2 separate regions of the Homo sapiens genome follow, and region 2 is linked to region 1. The links are contacts of gene promoters, found by promoter capture Hi-C in blood cells and fetal thymus (Javierre and others, 2016). All regions are on one chromosome and are shown on one strand. Each heading gives the region's core, a stretch centred on a gene start or on the middle of the fragment in contact. The rest is flanking DNA. Distances are from core to core; before and after follow the strand shown. Region 1 holds the start of ARFIP2 (ARF interacting protein 2). Region 2 overlaps TRIM6-TRIM34 (TRIM6-TRIM34 readthrough).

Evidence for each region. The method cuts DNA at HindIII sites, captures the fragments that hold promoters and counts their contacts. A CHiCAGO score of 5 or more calls a contact.
Region 2: a fragment that was not itself captured here is called in contact with the fragment with the promoter of ARFIP2 in region 1 in 2 of 17 cell types (non-activated CD4 T cells and activated CD4 T cells); the score reaches 7.3 in non-activated CD4 T cells.

Annotation. Positions count from the first base shown.
Region 1 is chr11:6,478,992-6,483,034 of GRCh38, reverse strand. ARFIP2 (ARF interacting protein 2) reads left to right here and starts at 1,704. Exons shown (of 8, transcript NM_001376558.2): 1 at 1,704-1,804; 2 at 2,572-2,712; 3 at 2,967-3,063; 4 at 3,777-3,895. The coding sequence starts at 2,614. It overlaps TIMM10B (translocase of inner mitochondrial membrane 10B), which reads right to left and starts at 1,534. Exons shown (of 3, transcript NM_012192.4): 1 at 1,480-1,534; 2 at 1,183-1,278; 3 at 1-990. The coding sequence starts at 1,518. The coding sequence ends at 814. RefSeq lists enhancers at 1,426-1,475, 1,956-2,075, 912-2,111. The HindIII fragment of the contact is 2,521 bases long and covers 627-3,147 here.
Region 2 is chr11:5,615,082-5,619,099 of GRCh38, reverse strand. All of the region lies in intron 7 of TRIM6-TRIM34 (TRIM6-TRIM34 readthrough), which reads right to left. It also overlaps a transcript of TRIM5 not described here. Among named protein-coding and RNA genes, the nearest start is that of TRIM34, 7.9 kb to the left of the region's middle. The HindIII fragment of the contact is 1,477 bases long and covers 560-2,036 here.

The DNA of each region.
Region 1 (4,043 bases), core at 455-2,954:
CTGAGAAGACTGTACATACTAAGAAAGTAACAACCTGGGGAAATGGCTGAAGTTCCAAAAGACTCCAGACTTCTTACAGGTTTCATCTCTCTTCTGTGGCCACTAACTTCCCAAGGAGGCAGTGCCCAAAAGCCCTGTGGTTTTTTGATCCGTTGTACTTCGATAGCTCCTCCTTTCCCTAGATCCAGCAGAACTCTAGACATGTAAGACATAGTTCACAAAACAACAGTTATGAACCAACAAATACTTGGCTCACGGTTATGAGCCACTGAAGTCAGTCAGACTTAAGGACAACTAGACAGAGCTCCCATTTTCTGTCATCTGGGCAGGAACCAATCTCCTGTTGTATAAAATGACCTTCTGGTACTTTCTGGAATCTTGCTTCCTCATCTGTTAAGTGAGGCTAATACCGCTTACTCATAGTTTTGTTGTGAAGATGAACTAAGAGCATGACATATTACCCGTTTTAAAATTGTACACACAGACCCTGCTTTAACCAGATGCCTGCAAATGCTCAGGTTTTCCTTCTACATATAGAAAACAATTTCTCAGCTGCCAGGGCTGAAGCCAGCAGATATGCACTAAACGACAGAACAACGGATTGTGCCAATAAAGTAGGCAAAGCTTCCTTGCCCAGAATATAAATCAAACTGAGTAAAAACTGGGTATATTGGCTCCAGGAAAAGGAGCAAGGACACCCAGCTTTCAGGCAACCTCGAATTCTCTCTGTTTAGGATTCACCAACCCCAAGGTCCACCGGGTCCTTCAATCTGAGGGTCCATCCAAGGCCTTCCTTCCTGGGGTTGGGTATGGCTAGCTGCCTGATGGAGAGACCCCAGGCTGTTCAGCAGCAACGCCTGGCACAGCCGAGGCAGCCTCGTAGTCTGCGATGCGGCGCTGTACCAGGGCAGGCATGAGCTGCACGTAAGCGGCCATGAGGCGGTGGTTGGAATGGATCAGCTTCCCAGCACAGCTGTGCAGACAGGCCTCCTAGAAGGAAGATAGGGTTTAAGTGGAGGATAAAGGTGCCCTGTCGGGTCCGCCTCCTTTCTTCCCCATGCCCAGCCTAGGGGTGAGGGTCGTGGGAAGGCCAGGGCCAGAGGTACGGGAAGTGGGGTGAGGAGGGAAGCAGTCTACCGCTAAACTCTTCTTGCAGCGTAACCTCCCTACACAGTTCCCCACCTCCTCAGCGTCCAGAGCTCGGTGGTGCAAGCTGGGCACACAGCGCTGGAAGCAGAGTTCTGTCATCCGATTGTAGACCAACAGGAAGTCACGCAGCTGAGAGAAAAGGGGGACCACAAACTCAGCGATAAGGGCCCCACACTTCTAGTCAAGGTCGCGCCGCCCAAAGTTTCCCAGGCCCGCGCGCCATAGCCCGAAGTTTCCAGCCCTCAAATCCCTGGCCCTGTGGGGTTCCCGCGATGTGTGCAGGAATGCGAGCTGAACGTCTGGCCTCGAAACGACTTAGTTCTCACTTACGTTTCGCAGTTGCTGTTGCTGCTGCTGCTGCCGCTCCATCACGCCACCGGCGCATGCCGTACGCCACTTCCGTTTCAGCTTCTCGGTGCCGCCCCGGAAGTAACCTCTCGCTGATCTCGAGAGCTAGCTCGAGTATCGCCCTGCCCTGGCTGCGACGTCAGCTCCGCCCTTATAATCTGCGACGTGGCCGGCTTCTTCTGCCCGGAGAGGACGTCATTTCCGCCGAGTCCCTGACCTGCTGCTAGGATCGCGACGGGAACTGGAGCCCGAGGTCCCCGCGCGGCCCGGGCCTGGCGCCCTGAGGGGAAGAGCGGCCCGGCCCGAGGTGAGAGGAACATGCTTGGGCGACGGGAAGTTGAACGCACAAACCTGTCCAGAGGGCAAGATGCCCCGAGCCCCGGGGAAGGATGAGGACACACCTGATGTCCAGGTGTATGGGGGTGGGGGCGGGGACTCACACACCTGGGAGACATAACTGACTGTGGAAGGGTCACCGATATCCTGGGAGAGAGAGGCTTTTACCAGAGACTGGGAACATACACCCACTGATCTAACTAAGGCCTGGTGGGGAGGGCCCGAGGAAGACGAGGTGTATGAGACGGAGGAGGGGAGACCCCCTGAAGGAAGGGGGAAGAAACGCTAAAGGAATGTGAAAGGCCAAGCAATGGAGAACAAACCTGAATAGGGGGGTGAAGACCTGAGCCCTGGAAAGGGTTCATCTCCTCAGCATAAACACGCCTGCATGGAGATAAGTTCTAAGAGAGCAGACTTTCCCTCTTCACTGTTGTATTTTCATTGTCACAAATAGTGCCTGACACATAGTAGGCACTCACTAAATGTCTGCTGAATGAGTGTAGAAATAATCACCAGAGTCCTGGTGAGGTTGGGGGCTTGTGAGAAGACACCGTGCTTTGGTGTGCCTGTTTCAAATGTGCGTTTTGGAGGGGAGAAATACATATATCTGAAGAAAGGAATGATGGCCAAACGCTGGGACACTCAAACCCTGGGACAGCCTTTAAAGAAATGACAGAGGAGGCCTCCTTCTTCTAGAGTGCTGGCCAGTGTCCAGAACTTCTGTGTTGGGCTTTGCAGGGTGCTGGGGTGGAGAGTTTTACTCCAATACCTTTCCTAGCCATGACGGACGGGATCCTAGGGAAGGCAGCCACAATGGAGATCCCTATCCACGGGAACGGCGAAGCCAGGCAGCTTCCTGAAGATGATGGGCTGGAGCAGGTGCTTCTGTTTGATTCTTCTAATTGTTTCAATTTAGGAATCCAATTTATAAATCCTAGGTTCTCACCCTCCATTCCAGTAGCCTTCCCCTGACTTATCTGACTCCCTTCATTCTTTTTACGTATCATTTTGATTCTGTGCAGACTTCCCTTGTGTACTATCTTTATGATGCTTGAATCCAAACTTGTTCCCACCTCCAAAATGCTTCTGCAGCCCCTATGTTCCTGAAGCAACCCCTCTTCTCTGGCCTATAGGACCTCCAGCAGGTGATGGTGTCAGGACCCAACCTCAATGAAACCAGCATTGTGTCTGGTGGCTATGGGGGCTCTGGTGATGGACTCATCCCCACAGGTATGAATGTTCAGAAACAGGAATCTTGGGTGGAGGAGGGGACAGGAATGGTTTGGGGAAGCATAGGATATGTCTAGGAAAGCTTGAATTATGTCTGGAGATCTTGGGAACTTCTGCTTGTAGGAACCTCATGGACTCTCCTCAGCCCAAAAGCAACTCCCAGCGTTGTCCATCCATTTCCCTTTTGCCACTTAGCCCCTGAAATGGCTCATTTGTCCTTTCCCTGCCACCACCTGAGTCAAGTTAAGACCTGCTTCACAGGAATGCCCCCCCTCTACAGCTTGAGGCTGAGTTGGAACTTTGTGAAGCTTCTCAGAATTTTTAGATTCTAAAGTTTAGAGGAACAAACAGCCCTGAATCTCACACTAAGATTCCACATGGGAATGCAACCAGGTTTCTTGTTATCATGACCCACCATCCTTGACTCCTGCTGCCCCCAAACTCAGTGTATTTTCTTCTGTTTCCTCTGCCCCTGTACACCAACAACTCCCTGCAAACCCCTCCTCTAACCCCCAAGGAGGCCATATGTATATCAGGATTTGGTTCTCACCGCGCAAAGTCCGAGTTCCTCCTAGTAAGCAGGAGCATCCAGTTGTCTCTAGCATCTCCTTCAGGGAAGTCAATTTCATGTGCTCGAAGAGAAGTATGGGTGGGGCCACAGAGGTGTCTGGTGTATCTGAGAGAGGCTGGTGTCAGAGAACTTGATCCTTTAGGGTCTGGCCGCCATCCATCTCACAGCACCACTCCTTCTGGCCCTGGAGATGAGGTGGCTCGGGGCATTGCTGGAGAAAAGTTTGACATCGTCAAGAAATGGGGCATCAACACCTATAAGGTAGGATTTAAGCACCTCTCCCTTCCCCAAAACTCCTTATGGGTACCTTTTTCCCTTTTCTTCGTGATCGTAATATCCCATCTGTGGCTGAGAGTAGGAGCCTGGGGGGTGCTGGGGTAGATACCTGTTGTGTGGGGAGGCTGTTAGG
Region 2 (4,018 bases), core at 49-2,548, 860 kb after region 1:
CAAAGCTGGTCGTTTTTCCCAGGGAGTTCATATGACTCAGGCTACCCTCATATCACCGTTTGCACACAATACATTGATTCACACATTCTTCATTTTCTCCAGGATTACTGTGAATTTTTACCCAATGACATGAAGCCTGCTCATGTGAGTGATATAAAATGGCTTGTCCTTATCATGCTACACTGATGTTTCCCAAATAAGTCACGGTTTTAGCTTTGTCACTGTTTCTCTCCCAAATCTGCCCTTAATGAGATTTGTGTCCTCCTTATGTCTTATAATTGTACAAAGCTTAAAATAGAATTTCCTCTCATAGTCCAATCTTTTCTCCCCCAGAGTATACTACATTTGATGCTATCTATAATCAATCAAGGTTCAAGAATCAAAACAATCATGTACTTGTGCCATTGTTTTATAGTAGATTAATCAATATGCAATGTATACAGTTTATCATCTAGGTTAATTTTCTCTCTTCTTTTACCCTGTATATCCATTGACATTCCTGACTGTGGTGTTAAAATTTGCATATGAAATGATTTTATTTTGTTTTTCAACATAAGCTTTCAACTTAAAGTTTTCATCATTATCTTGGTCACGTAAGCTAGACCCCAAGTTTAATATTACTTATATCATTTATGAGTAATATAGGAGTCTATTCCTTCATTAGGCCTAAGATTACATTTTGAGCATTATACATTACTTTGACTATTTGTTTGTTTGTTTGTTTGTTTTTGAGATGGAGTCTCACTCTGTTGCCCAGGCTGGAGTGCAGTGGTGTGATCTCGGCTCACTGCAACCTTTGCCTCCTGGGTTCAAGCGATTCCCCTGCCTCAGCCTCCCAAGTAGCTGGAATTACAGGCGCGGGCCACCATGCCCGGCTAATTTTTGTATTTTTAGTAGAGATGGGGTTTCACCATGTTGGTCAGGCTGGTCAAACAGTAAATATTTTAGGATTTGCAGGTCAAGCAGTCTCTGTTGCAACCAGTCAACACTGCTGTTGTAACTTGAAAGCAGTCACAGATGATACATAAATAAGCATGGTGATATTCCAATAAAGTACATTTACAAAAATAGGTATCAAAGTAGGATTTGACTCACACACTGACCTTTTCAGATTTCTAACAGACAGAAATGAATAAAAATGTTGCCTCTGAATTTTGCTGCCCTGTTTTGTAGGTCAATTCTGCCACTTCATATGTGTCCAACTTTGAGCAAATTCTTTCATCTCACTGTACCTCCATTTTCTCATTTTTTTTAAAAAAAGGATAATGACAGTACCTATTTTCATAGGACCACTATAAAGATTGAGCCCAGGCCATGCGCGGTGGCCCAAGCCTGTAATTCCAGCACTTTGGGAGGCTGAGGCAGGTGGATCACCTGAGGTCAGGAGTTTGAGACCAGCCTGGCTAACATGGCGAAACCCCGTCTCTACTAAAAAACACAAAAATTAGACAGGCGTGGTGGTTGATGCCTGTAATCCCAGCTACTCGGGAGGCCGAGGCTGGTGAATCGCTTGAACCTGGGAGGCGAAGGTTGCAGTGAGCCGAGATCGTGCCATTGCACTCCAGCCTGGGCAACAAGAGCAAAACTCTGCCTGAAAAAAAAAAAAAAAAAAAGATTGAGTCCATATATATAATGTATAGAAACGTGATTGACACAGAGGAAGCGATATAGAAAACTCAGTTGCTGTCTTCATACAAGTACCCTCAGTGGTCAGGTGGAAATGTGTGTGATTCAAATGTATGTGTTGACTTTCAGTTCAAAAATGTGAGGGTTTCCTTCGATCTCTTGAAATAAAGGCCAATGCTTAGCTGAGATAGGCAATAATGCCTTAAACTTGCAGTTCTATCTTGATTTCTCTCCTAACATTTCTCCTCTGCTTTTTCAAAGATTCCAAAATAGACTCCATTTCCCTAATTGTTTTTCATATTTTAATTATTTGCCCTTCAAATACTAGTATGTTTTCAAGATGGATAAAAATGAATCAATATTTTATTTCTTTGTTGATTCCTTATTTGACAAGAGCCTGTACCTAAGCTTGCATTTATTTAAAAAAAAAAAAAAAAAGCTGGGCGTGGTGGCTTATGCCTGTAATCCCAGCACTTTGAGAGGCCGAGGCAGGTGGATCACCTGAGGCTGAGAGTTTGAGATCAGCCTGGCCAACATGGTGAAACACTGTCTCTACTAAAAATACAAAAATTAGCCGAAGGTGGCAGGCACCTTTCATCCCAGGTACTTGGGAGGCTGAGGCAGGAGAATCGCTTGAACCCAGGAGGCAGAGGTTGCAGTGAGCCGAGATCGTGCCACTGCACTCCAGCATGGGCAACAGGAGGGAGACTCCATCTCAAGGAAAAAAAAAAAAAAAGGTTATTCTCGGCCTCAAACATCAACCCCATGAGAACCTGAGAACTAGCCCTTCACCAATCAAATGTAATGTTTCAAATCTTGGAACCCTAAAACCCCAAATTTATCTTCTAAAAGATGGTTGAAATAAACCTTGCACAGAATATGCCTTTGTTTTATCCCCTAACTGACTGAGTCTCTGTGAAGGCAAGGGCTAGACTGTATGCACAAAGCAGTTATACAGCAAATGTTTAAAAAACTGAGAGTCCCATGGAATCAAGATCATTTCTGACAAAATATAAAGTAGCAAAATATTTAAATTTTAATTAAAACTAAGTTAAAATGCCAACTCAAGCAGTAACTTGTTGGGAAAAATGAAGATAACTATATTATTTACCTAGAGCAACTACATGCCACTTAAATACTTTTCTTTTTTTTGAGACAGTGTTTCGCTCTTGTTGCCCAGGCTGGAGTACGAAGACACAAATAGTTTAAAAGTAAAAAGATGAGGCCGGGCGCGGTGGCTCACGCCTGTAATCCCAGCACTTTGGGAGGCCGAGGCGGGTGGATCACGAAGTCAGGAGATCGAGACCATCCTGGCCAACACGGTGAAACCCCGCCTCTACTAAAAATACAAAAAAATTAGCCGGGCGTGGTGGTGGGCGCCTGTAGTCCCAGCTACTCGGGAGGCTGAGGCAGGAGAATGGCGTGAACCCGGGAGGCGGAGCTTGCAGTGAGCCGAGATCGCGCCACGTCACTCAACTGCGCCATGTCACTCCAGCCTGGGAGACAGAGCGAGACTCCGTCTCAAAAAAAAAAAAAAAAATGAAAAGATATGTTATGAAAACAATAATCAAAAGAAAGCTGGGCTGGGCACGGTGGCTCACGCCGGTAATTCCAGCACTTTGGGAGGCCGAGGCGGGTGGATCACCTGAGGTCAGGAGTTCGAGACCAATATGACCAACATGGTGAAACCCCGTCTCTACTAAAAATACAATATTAGCCGGACGTGGTGGCAGGTGCCTGTAATCCCAGCTACTCGGGAGGCTGAGGCAGGAGAATCACTTAAACCCAGGAGGCAGAGGTTGCAGTTAGCCAAGATCACGCCACTGCACTCCAGCCTGGATGACAGAACGAGACTCCATCTCAAACAAACAAACAACAACAACAACAAAAAAAAAACAAAAAACAAGAAAGCTGGAGTGGCTAAATTAATACCTAACAAAGTAGAATTTGGAGAAAAAGATATTAGTAGAGATAGAGGGTCATTCCATAATGAGAAAGGGGTGTCAGTTCATCAACAGGATGTAACATTCCTAAATGTGTATGCTCCTTACAAAAGAGCTTCAAAAATCAGAAAGCAAAATCTCATAGAATTGCAGGAGAAATAGGCAAATCCACAAATATAGTTGTATATTTCAACACCCCTCTCTCATAGAAAAGCAGTAAAGATACAGAAGATTTGAATAATATCAACTAACATGATGTTAATTGAACACTGTACCCCAGGACCACAGAATACACATTTCTTTCAAGTGCAAATGAAACATTTACCAATATAGATCATATCCTTTACCGTAAAACAAGTCTCAATACAATTAAAAAGGATTCAAGTCATATAAAGTCTGTATCTGGACCATTTAAAATTAAATTATAAACCAATAACAAAAAGATATAT